Regions from separate parts of the Homo sapiens genome. Here region 1 is linked to region 2. The links are contacts of gene promoters, found by promoter capture Hi-C in human tissues and cell types (Jung and others, 2019). All regions are on one chromosome and are shown on one strand. The core of a region is centred on a gene start or on the middle of the fragment in contact, and the rest is flanking DNA. Distances in the headings are between cores, read along the strand shown. Region 1 has its middle 7.1 kb from the start of PPFIBP1. Region 2 holds the start of REP15 (RAB15 effector protein).

The links. The method cuts DNA at HindIII sites, captures the fragments that hold promoters and counts their contacts. A contact is called where the count stands out against the background at its distance.
Region 1: a contact is called between a fragment that was not itself captured here and the fragment with the promoter of REP15 in region 2, in 1 of the 25 tissues and cell types used here (spleen).

Annotation. Positions count from the first base shown.
Region 1 is chr12:27,514,178-27,519,990 of GRCh38, reverse strand. No RefSeq gene overlaps it. Among named protein-coding and RNA genes, the nearest start is that of PPFIBP1, 7.1 kb to the left of the region's middle. The HindIII fragment of the contact is 3,550 bases long and covers 2,789-5,813 here.
Region 2 is chr12:27,694,059-27,699,855 of GRCh38, reverse strand. REP15 (RAB15 effector protein) reads right to left here and starts at 3,409. Exons shown (of 1, transcript NM_001029874.3): 1 at 2,260-3,409. The coding sequence starts at 3,293. The coding sequence ends at 2,583. PPFIBP1 (PPFIB scaffold protein 1) reads right to left here. Exons shown (of 30, transcript NM_003622.4): 30 at 4,292-5,797. All of the region lies in intron 3 of MRPS35-DT (MRPS35 divergent transcript), which reads left to right. The HindIII fragment of the contact is 6,420 bases long and covers 1,079-5,797 here.

The DNA.
Region 1 (5,813 bases), core at 3,314-5,813, 180 kb after region 2:
ATTTGATTCCAAACCTATTTTGTCTTTCTGTGTCTGAAGCATTGATTGTCCACAATTTACACTCTCACTTCTGCCCTTTGCAGTAACAGAACAAGCTGACTCTTTAGTTACACCATCCCCAAATCTGAGCAGGCTTGAGGACACCTCCCTTTCTTTGGATGCAGGTACCAGAAGAGGCTCACCCTACTCATCAAATCCACAGCATTTGCCTGTCTGGTCTTTACAGGCTTCCAGCTGCAGCTCTCTAAAGCACAACCCTGATCACTCCTGACTCTAAACACTTAAATGAGTCTCCCTTTACCAAGGAACAAAACTCATCAAACTTTCTTGACTGGTGTCCAAAAGCCTTCACATCCTTGCCCCCAACTTACCTTTCTGAACTTATTTTCGACTCTTCTTCATATGCCCACACTGCATGCACTGCATGACTTTGCACCCATATTTCCTAATAATACATCCTCACTGTGATTTTTGCCTGTTTCTACAAAAATCTACCTCACAGTGTTGTTGCAAGGATCTGACAAGATGTCATATGCAAGATGACAGAGCACCTTGCCTGACACATCATAGGTGATAAGCAAACATATTTTCCTTTTTCCTACAACATAAAACAATTGTACTATAATTTTTATAGGTGCCTTATGTTCCTTTCTGGCTCCAAGTTTCTTACAGTCCTCAAGAACAGAATGCTAATTTATTTCATCTTTACATCCTTTGTAGGATCTAGAACCATGTTTTGTCCCATAGACATTGATTAAATATTCACTGAATGAATAAGTGAATGAATGCTGTCTTTTGCTTGAAACTCATAACCTGCTATGGTCTAGGTCTTCAGAAGTTCAGGAATAACTTGACCAGACTGATCACAAAGGATCTGGGTGCCTCCAGTTGTTGTTATCCCAGTCACACTGCCAAACACAGAGTGGGTTAAACACATGGTATAAATCATGAACCCAAATCCAAATCAAACAAGCTTAGCTTTAGAATTCCTTCTAAAGGAAATTACTGCTTATTCTGTCTGATCCTAAGCGTGGCATTGGTGATAATCCAGACGTTATTTTAATATCCTTTCATTGAATACTAAGCCACTACCTAGCTATCACCATTGACATCATTTCTGAATCCAACCCTCCTCCCCATTCCCTTCTTGCCCATAGAGACAGGTTAGAAATAGGCACAATATCTTGCTCCAAGTGGGGAGTCTTATTTTAATCACTTTTTCCTTACAACCCAATTGTGCTGGTTATTCTCTGGTTACCCACCAGATACATCTAAAAATCTAGTTACATTCAACTTACTCATTTTATTAGTCTATTTATAAGTTGAAAAATTTTAATTAAAAATAAGGATAATTGGTTTTCATGGTCTTTGATTAATGTTCAACGAATGACTAAACTAAACAAATTACATTCTCTTCAACAATTAACCTCATTACAAACTTCCTTAATTGAATCTCCTAAAAAGTATGTCTGGTTTCTGTATTCTGAGACAGGTCAACAAGATAGGGAGCCAGCCTTTTCAATACACAGGAGCAATTCCTGTTTTTCATTGCATGTAGGTGATCTGCATAATGTTTGCCCCAAGCAGCCCAAGCCTTTCTACAGCTGTCAAGCCTTTGGGTGGGAGAGCCCCGCCATCCTTCCTATCAACATGCACTGTGCATTGGCCTCTTCAACGTCTTAGGAACACGCCCAGTAACAACAGAGCATTACTCAAAACCAGTAAGTCCCCCCTTGATTTCCACCTGCCACAATATTAAATAGGGCTCAGTTTTAAAATAATACGTCGTGGCTCACTACTGATCAAAATTTACCCAACTTGACATTCCCTGGACCAGTGCCATATATACAATTCCGAGGCTTCAGACTGATCCATTAATTTCTACTTCACTCACCTGTCACCTAAACAATCATTAATTTATTGTCTGTTTAGTCTTTCCTAATATTTAACTAGAATTCTTTTACTTAACTAGAACTTACATTTTAAAATGGCAGGTTAACTTTAACCCAGACACTTCTGTCAAAGAAGACTAAGAGAAATAAATTTTAGCTAAAACAGATGTAAGATGATGATGGAAAAATTGGCTTAAACAAATGCTTTCATTGAAGAAATTTTCCTGGCATGTTGAAACAAGTTGCTGATAAATCTTCAGGATATAGCATCTATCTCCCAAGTCCCATAAAAATTAGATTCTCTGCTACTTTCCCTTGCTCTTCCAGAGTCTATCTTCAGAAATTCCTTTCCACTGAAGGATGCTGACTGTGCAACATCTGAATTGCCAGATAATCAGTACTGTGGTTTGTTAAACTAGCCAGGGTATTAAGGAAGCAATGGGAAAGGATCCCAACTATCACTTTAGTATGTCTGTCTTTTTTTTTTTTTCTTTGAGACAGTGTCTCGCACTGTCACCTGGGCTAGAGTGCAGTGACGTGATCTCGGCTCACTGCAACCTCCGCCTCCCAGATTCAAGCAATTCTCCTGCCTCAGCCTTCTGAGTAGCTGGGGTTACAGGCACCCACCACCACACCCAGCTAATTTTTTGTATTTTTAGTAGAGATGGGTGTCACCATGTTGGTCAGGCTGGTCTCGAACTCCAGACCTCATGATTTGCCCACCTGGGCCTCCCAAAGTGCTGGGATTACAGGCATGAGCCACCGTGCCCAGCCAGTATGTCCGTCTTTTAAAGGCTTTAAACCTCTTAATCTTATTTCACTTTAATTTCCATTCGATCCTAAACGGCTTGAATTCTGAATTATACATAATGTAATAGCCATATTAGTGCCTTTTACATTCATTTCTGAAAAAAGGTCATCACCCATTTCTGAATAAAAGAAAGTGTAAGAAATATCACCTCTTCTTTGGTAAAATTAGTTAAGTGTGTGCTCTGAGTTATAAGACCCAGCATCATTTGACAGTTTTGAGCTTCAGTTTCTTCATCTGTGATTGGGATGTCATTAATGCAAACAAACTAAAAAAGGGTGTTCCATGAAACTCTGATGCTGCTAACTCCACAACTTCCTTCTGAGAGTCCGAAATGGCTCTGTATACCCAGGATTCCTCGGCAACCTTCCTACGACACTTCAATAGCACTGATTGAAGCATGGATTCCCACCTGAATGAAGACAGCCAGGTATAAACTTGTCAATGGCCTGGGGCAAACAGGCACAGGAACTGTTCAGCAGAGATCTGTACTGAACACCCACTAACGGGGCCATGTATATCTTCCCTCAAGACATTTAATATGACACATTGAATATGTCTAGAAAACCAGACCATAGAGTAGAGCAGAAGCAAGGAGGCACATGGAATAAAGGTCATAAACAGAATGAATACAGGTCATGCACAGAATAGTAAGTAGAAGCATGAGGTCTAGAAGATGAAATCAGAAGAAAGTAGACAGGAGCTGAAGTAAAACATAAAGCAGAAAAGGGTGGCATGTGCTGAGAGTCACACCTAGAAAAAGCAGTAGTCAGGAGCCATGAGGTGGTGGATGCCACAGGGGTGGTGGACGCTAGCTACTGAAGGAATCAAAAATAGGACAGCAATAATTAAAATGGTAATGATGATAGTGAACACATGCCGATTTTTGTGTATCAGGTACTACAGGTTGAGCATTTCTAATCTGAAAATCTGAAATTCAAAATGCTCCAAAATCTGAAATTTTGAGTGCCAACACGACGCTCAAAGGAAATGTCCATTGGAGCAATTCGGATTTCAGATTTTTAGATTAGGGATGCTGGCAAGTTACTTATAAGAACCTGTAAGTAAAATCCAAATATTCCAAAATCTGAAAAAAAAAAAAAAAATTGAAATCCTAAACACTTCTGGTCCCAAGCAGTTCAGATAAGGGAGACTCGAACTGTATTTTAAATGCCTTTAAATATATTACCTTCAACCCTGTTTCCACTTTGCAGATGAGAAAACCAAGCCACAGAGAGCTTAAGTAACTTGTCCATGGTCACATAACTAGGAAGTAGCATAATACAACCGAGTTTGGCAGTACAGTCTGTGCTGAGAGAGAAGCTCAGCCGTAAGAATAATAGACTAGTAGATTCACTCTTGAATCCCGGACTGTGCTCCAGTTCTCATGAGGCTTGACGGTTCAGTGGTTTTCCTGCATTTCCTCCCTTCCTCAGGTAGTCTCACACTAAATTTCTATCACCTGAGGTAATCTGAATACTTTTAATGCCTTACGACTTGAAAGCGCTTAAGGAATGCCGTGACTTTAAACGAGATAATAAATGTGAGAGCATTTTACCTTCCCTGAAAAAAATAGAGCAGACAAAGTGAAGTGTTTTATTCTGAAGCGAGGTGAAAGTTCTTAATGTATAATCTGGTGATCAAGATTAAGTTTGCCTCTAAATCATATTACATTGTGACATTACTTTAGGTCAACCTCAGTCTGTCTTGGTGGTATATTTTTGTCACACATTGTGGGAATTTTAGAATGTATTAGTTTACAACATATAATTATCATTGCATATTAATTAAATATCATTATATTAATTACATGGCCCTGTTCTACTTCATTCCTTCCCTAAGCAACTAGCATGAAGAAGCTATGATTACAAGGGCAATGAACAAAGGGCCAAAAGAAAAGAAGCTTGAATATTGTTTTATCTTTCTACAGACTCTCATATCAGCAGCCAGATCACTTAGGGTCTTGAAGGAGTTTAGATTTATTTATTTTAACTATAATGAGAACAGAGTCAGGACATAGCATATCTCATGTTACTAAAATCAAAACAAAAACAAAAAAACAGGCCGGGCACGGTGGCTCACGCCTGTAATCCCAACACTTTGGGAGGCCAAGGCGTGCGGATCACGAGGTCAGTAGTTTGAGGCCGGCCTGACCAGCCTGACCAACATGGTGAAACCCCGTCTCTACTAAAAATACAAAAATTAGCCAGGCGCGATGGCGCACGCCTGTACTCAAGAGGCTGAGGCAGGAGAATCGCTTGAACCCAGGAGGCGGAGGTTGCAGTGAACTGAGATCATGCCATTGCACTCCAGCCTGGGCAACAGAGTGAGACTCCGTCTCAAAACAAACAAACAAAAAACTTCCCTCAATCAACCCTATTTCACTTTTATTGAGTTACATTTATGAGAGTAACCAGTAGTATAAGGAAAGATGCTGCTTCTTATAGGACTGGTTTGTAAAGTTCTGAGCTTTCCTATCAAAAGGGCAATCAATGGATATCGTGACTTAGTGATTCCATCTGTTACCCACACAACAGGTAGATTTGGTCACTGGGCAGGTGTTAACCCAATGACCACAACCAAGGAGGATTTAACAAGGGGATTTTAAAAATTAATGTAACACATAAGGAGAACAGGACTAGTTCCCAAAGCATTGACTCTCTTAGCTGGGGGCTGAGCCAGGTTTTATAACCATAGGGTAATGAGGTGTGATCTGATTGGATCTTGCAATGAGGTAATGTCGGGAGGCATGATCTGACTGCTTCCTGCCATCGGGACACCAGAACTCGATTTGATTGGATCCTGCATCCGGCCGTGAGGTGTCTACTTCTTAATTCAGTCTCCAATCCTCCTTCTGAGCATTTAAGTTCACTCTGTTGTTGCACATTTAGTTCATCTGGGCATGCTCTGGTTACATGACCTGACATCTGTTGAGACAGAAAAACAGCTCACAGCTTTGTTACATAAAAGTTGAACCCAATTGTTCTGGGGTGGCTACACATCATCATGTTAAGAAGGAAAAGATTTGGACCCTAGATTCAGCCCCCTTTGGGAGAGGTTGAATTGCAAAGAAGAACTGCTAAGATTTCTTCTGTTCACTATGCTATGAAATC
Region 2 (5,797 bases), core at 2,160-4,659:
TGAACTCCTGACCTCGTGATCTGCCTGCCTCAGCCTCCCAAAGTGCCGGGATTACAGGTGTGAGCCACCGCGCTTGGCTATTCTTAATTCTATAACGAATAGCAGTTCTACGAGGTGGGTATTGTCATCTCCGGTTTTTAGATAGGAAAATCAGGAGGCATTAGGGCTACAGAAGAAATCAAATGGCACCCTCAAGTCTACCTAAGGAAAAAGTACATCTACAGGGTGGGGGCAGGGTGCAAGGAACTAACAAAGAATGATGAAGCACCCCGGAAGGGACAATGGCCTGAGAGGGGAAGGGGAGGGAGCTGGAGTCTCAGAGAAGGGCCAGCTGGACAGGAGCTGTCTGGAACCAAGCATCGTAGTGAGGCAGGGAAAGTTGGGCTAATACATTCCAGACCTGTCCCCTTTCTGATCTCGTGCTCTCCACTGGATGGAAGCCAGAGTGATGCAGTTAGAGCCCAGAAGAAGGCAGACAAGGTGGGGAGTAGATGTGGAGGTTGAAATGAGAATAACCAGCACAGAGGTTTGGTTGGATACGTGTAAATAAAAGAGCTGGGATTTTAAGCAGGTTTGTCCTCAACTAAACTCGAAAGCTCTCACTCCTTCTACCATGACAAAGTTTTTACGACTCTGCATTGTGGCCTATTGCTGGTCATGATATCAATTTGGTGGCTTGCAGTCAGCATTTTACAAACCGATGTAGGACAAACTATCAGAGTGCACTGCAACATGCTTCAGTTATACAGATCACAGCAACAAATGTATTTCTTACTATGGAATACCTGCATGACGCCACATTGCGCTCATATGTCTTAATTCAGCCTCACAGGAACATGCCCTAAATTCCAAAATACAGAAAAGGCCAAGGCCATAAGAAGACTGTCAGAAACAGAAACGATTTTAAGAGGTTGGATGCAGTTGAAAGGATTCAGCCCATGTTTCTAATGGCTGCGTATCAGTGAACAGGTGGTTCAACAACAGGAAAAGTAGCCACAGATTAAGGCCAGGAAATGGAGGAAAAATGAGCAACAGTAACCAGCTAGCATTTTTGCAGGTGAACACCTTTGTTGTCTCAGCAATTCCAGTAGTTTAAAATCAGAGAATTTTCTTTTTATGTATTTATTGAGATGGGGTCTTGCTCTGTTGCCTAGGCTGGAGGGCAGTGGCACGATCACGACTCACTGCAACCTTGACCTCCCGGACCCAAGCAGTCCCCCTACCTCAGCCTCCCAAGTAGCTGGGACTACAGGCACACATCACCATGACTTTTTGTATTTTTTGTAGAGATGGGGTTTCACCATGTTGTCCAGGCTGGTCTTGAATTCCTGGGCTCAAGCAATCCTCCTGCCTCAGACTCCCAAAGTGTTGGGATCACAGCTACTCTTCCTGGCCAAAGAATTTTCTTTTCTTCTTCTTTTTTTTTTAATTGATTTTTACTTAACCTAATTTATAGGCTTACAGGGAATTTTCTTTACACGACTGTAGAATATGGGCTTTGTAACTGGGCAGACTTTACTTTTTTGTTACAAGCCACTTAATAGATTTATGAGTTATCTAGCCTCTTTGATTTGGCAAATAGAAACCTCTTAGAGTCATGGAAGACACATGCAAATCACGCTAATATATGTAAAGCATCTGACTTGACTTACAAGTGCAATAAATAATGGTGATTCCTTTTTGTACTGTTATAATTCCACACTGGCTTTTAAGTAAAAATGGTTATTATATGTGAATACACCTTCCTTACTGCAAAGGCTAAACAAGTATTATTAAAAGGAATAGTTTTATAGGTCACTGTTTTTAAATCATAGGCAGAGCTAACACTAAAGTGAATCTCAAAGTAAATCCCATCAAAGTCCTCTCAGTGCAGAGACAGCAGCTAGGGAGAAGACAGAATAAGGTAAGTGTTAGAGGAAAAGAACGCTGTGAGTTTTGTGCAGGAGTCCTGAACCCAAACTATTTTTTTTTTTTTAAAGATGAGGATTCACTCTGTTGCCCAGGCTAGAGCACAGTGGTGCAATCACAGCTCACTGTAGCCTTAAACTCCTGGGCTCAAGCGATCCTCCCACCTCAGCCTACTGAGTAGCTGAGACCATAGGCATAAGCCACTGTGCCTGGCTTGAAACTGGCATTACAAATGTAATTAAACCTGCTCTGTAGCCTTACCCACTACTTTATCCTACCCATCTCCCACCAACAGATGCAAAAACACATTTTATACTTTTGAGTGCTAGACTTATTATTTCAAACAGACACTTTTTTTTTGCAAATCAAACTTTAAATGTGACTTTATTATCTCTCTTCCATTTTTATTATTGAATAAGTGAATGAAATATTAAACTAAATTATAACTTTTCCTGAACTGTTTTTAAATCATAGGCAGAGCCAGGGTTTTCTTTTTTTCTCTCTCTCTCTGTAATTGCGACATGAATGTACTTTGATCCCAGTAATCATTTTCAATCAATGGGAAAACAAATGAAAAAAAATCCCATGCTGGAATGATGCAAATAGGTGAGCTTGCTTATTAGAATCTTTTTTTCTTTTCCTCTTACAGGCCACTCACATAATACATATCCAAGTCAGAGAATGCTGATATAAACCTTGCCCACCTCTCTCAGCCCGTCTTTCTTACTCAGACAATTTCTGAGCAGCTCTTTGATGAACACACAATCTTCAGTTTCCAGGACAAACTGAGCCACAGCCTTCCCTCCTGGCAGATGGCTCCTCACCATCTGACTTTTGACACTGTCCAGGACAACTCCCCTGATGTCTTTAGGCTTTCCTGGCATACCAAAGATGATAAACAGACCCAGGCAATCCTCTCCTATTAAGTTACAGAATTCTTCCAGCTTATCAAATCTACTTTTCTTCCAGGAAGACTCCTCTACCCTTGATTCTGGATTGGAAAGGTCACAAGGCTTAGATTCCACAGGAGGAGGTGAAGACATCTGCAGAGTCTGTACTGCGAGCTGAAGCTTTATTTGCTTGTTGGATCCCCAAAAGGTCCAAATCCAGTCTGCACCAAACAGGAAGGCTTGGTGCTTGGTCATCTTGGTGGTGGTCAGCCACTCATCAACTCCCTTTTCTTGGCAGAAAGTGATGAAATGGATTAAGAAGATCTCATTCAGAGTATTTGCAGCTGGGCAGAGTTTACTTGGAGGATATTCAAATCCAAGGTACTCCTTCAGTTTCTGAGCTGCATGGACTATAGCTTCACTGACCACCTCACAGACGACGGGCACCTCTTTGCTGTCCTTCAGAGCCAACTGTTGCGATGCTTTCTGCCCCATTTTCTCTGCATCCAAATATCAAACATGTGAATCTGGTTCAGACGTACTTCTTTTTCAAAGTAAAAGTTCTGCAGGGAGGCCACATCTGTTAATGGTTCATGTTTTTCTAACTCTACAGCTTCCTCGGGTGTAGTTAAGCATATATACATACAGCTAAATAAACATGTTAGTTCTCTCTGTTTGTCAGTTGGGTGTGTTGTGTTCATACAGTTCCTGCTGGTTTATTAAGTTAAAGATACTAAATTTCACACAAAACATCTGTTCTATCTAGGTTATATTCACTCTACTTTTAATCTTTGGTAATCTCTTCCAACATGTTTCCTCTTTCCAAGTTTTAGTTGAAGTAAAAATAGCACGTTAGTTCTTTTTGTTTTTGTTTTTTGAGACAGGGTCTCACTCTGCTACCCAGGCTGGAGTGCAGTGGCGCAATCATGGCTCACTGCAGCTTCAACCTCCCTGGGCTCAGGTGATCTCACCTCAGCCTCTTGAGTAGCTGGGGCTACAAGTGTATACCACCACACCTGGCTAATTTTTGTGTATTTTTTGTAGAGGTGGGGTTTCACCATGTTGTCCTGGCTGGTCTCAATCTCCTAGGCTCAAGCAATCCTCCCGCCTCGGCCTCCCAAAGTGCTGGGATTATAGGCATGAGCCACTGCACCCAGCCCTATGTTAGTTTTTTAAATATCCATACACCTCTTTCTACAACTAACTTCTTCCAATCTCTAGGTGAGTCATTTCCATTTGCTTTTCCTATTTTCTTTTTTTGTTTGTTTTTGTTTCTTTTACCTTCTGCCATGATTCTTCATTCCCCAGCTCAGTTGCTTCTTTTCCTACAAAAGCTTCTCAAACAAAGGCCTCAAATTCCTATCTGTTGATACACATTATAAACTCCATTCGAACAAATTTATGGCAGTTTATAAAGAGATTGTGTTATTTTCTATGTCAGAAACAAAGCCTGTTACTATGAACAACGGAAAATGAAATAAGGGCAATAAAAATGAGGCAATTATCAATTGACTTTATTTCCTTTCATATGGTAACACCAGCAGTGTATGATATTTGTAAATAAAATACGTCATAAAAAAATTTAACCTTATTACCTATTATCAGTTAGGTTATACCATCCTGAATAAAAAATATTTGGGCCGGGCATGGTGGCTCACGCCTGTAATCCCAGCACTTTGGGAGACCGAGGGGGGCGATTCACGAGGTCAGGAGATTGAGACCTTCCTGGCTAACACGGTGAAACCCCGTCTCTACTAAAAATACAAAAACAAAATTAGCCAGGCGTGGTGGCAGGTACCTGTAGTCCCAGCTGCTTGGGAAGCTGAGGTGGGAGAATGGCGTGAACCCAGGAGGCGGAGCTTGCAGTGAGCTGAGATTGTGCCACTGCACTCCAGCCTGGGCAACAGAGCAAGACTCCGTCTCAAAAAAAAAAAAAATGGCGTCTGTAACAGTTTCCTGGTATTTTCAACCAGGTTCTAAGAACAAATTGATTTTTTGAAGTGGTGACATCTAGTCACATTAAAATAAAATCCAAATAAAGTAAGTTCAATACAGTTACCACATAATGAATGGTAGAGTTTAAAGAAAATTATTATTAGCATCAAATCAATTGTTATGAATAAATAGTAATTTGATATTACAAGTTCTTTAATGAATACCTTGGTAACTTGCTGACAACTTAAAAGATAATACCACTGATATTCAAATACAGTTTATAATCAAGTCCAGTGGCAGATACTGAACCGCCCACCTCCACCTCAATTTGTGAAAACCTGTCTTTTGTAGGGTTGGCTACCATGGGTAATTACGCAGCACTGAATAAAAAATAGAATATTTTTCTAATACTTCTACAAATATAATAAACACAGTAACAGTTTTTGCTGCAGCGATTTTCTTTACAAAGAATATTTGGGCCCAGTGCTACAGAAAAACATGAACTACATCTTATCGTCACAAAATAGCCATTATAAAATGAATTTTGCAGCCTCTGTTTTTTTGAACTTTGAAATAAAATGTTCAGACAAATATTCAACTTTTTAAAAACCTCCATTCATTGATAGCCTGAGAAATGTACAATGAACATGTTTAGGCAGACTGCTAGTATTTTGCTGTAATGACACAGTTAACAAAGAGAAAAGAAACAATACTGTAAAGGTTTCTGCTTTGCTTTTGGCTTCCTCAAAAACTATTTCTACAAATTTTGGGGAGAGGAGGTGATTCTGAATGTATTCAAGTTAGTGGTAGGCCAGGCAGAGTGGCTCACACCTGTAATTCCAGCACTTTGAAAGGCTGAGGTGGGAGGATCACTTGAGGACAGGAGTTTGAGACCAGGCTGGACAACATGGTGAGACCCTGTTTCTACAAAAAAACTTTTTGAAAAATCAGCCAGGTGTGAAGGGTGGGGTGGGGTGGGAGGCCACACACCTGTAATCCTAGCTATTAGGGAAGCTGAGGTGAGAGGATCACTGGAGCCTAGGAATTCAAGGCTGCAGTGAGCT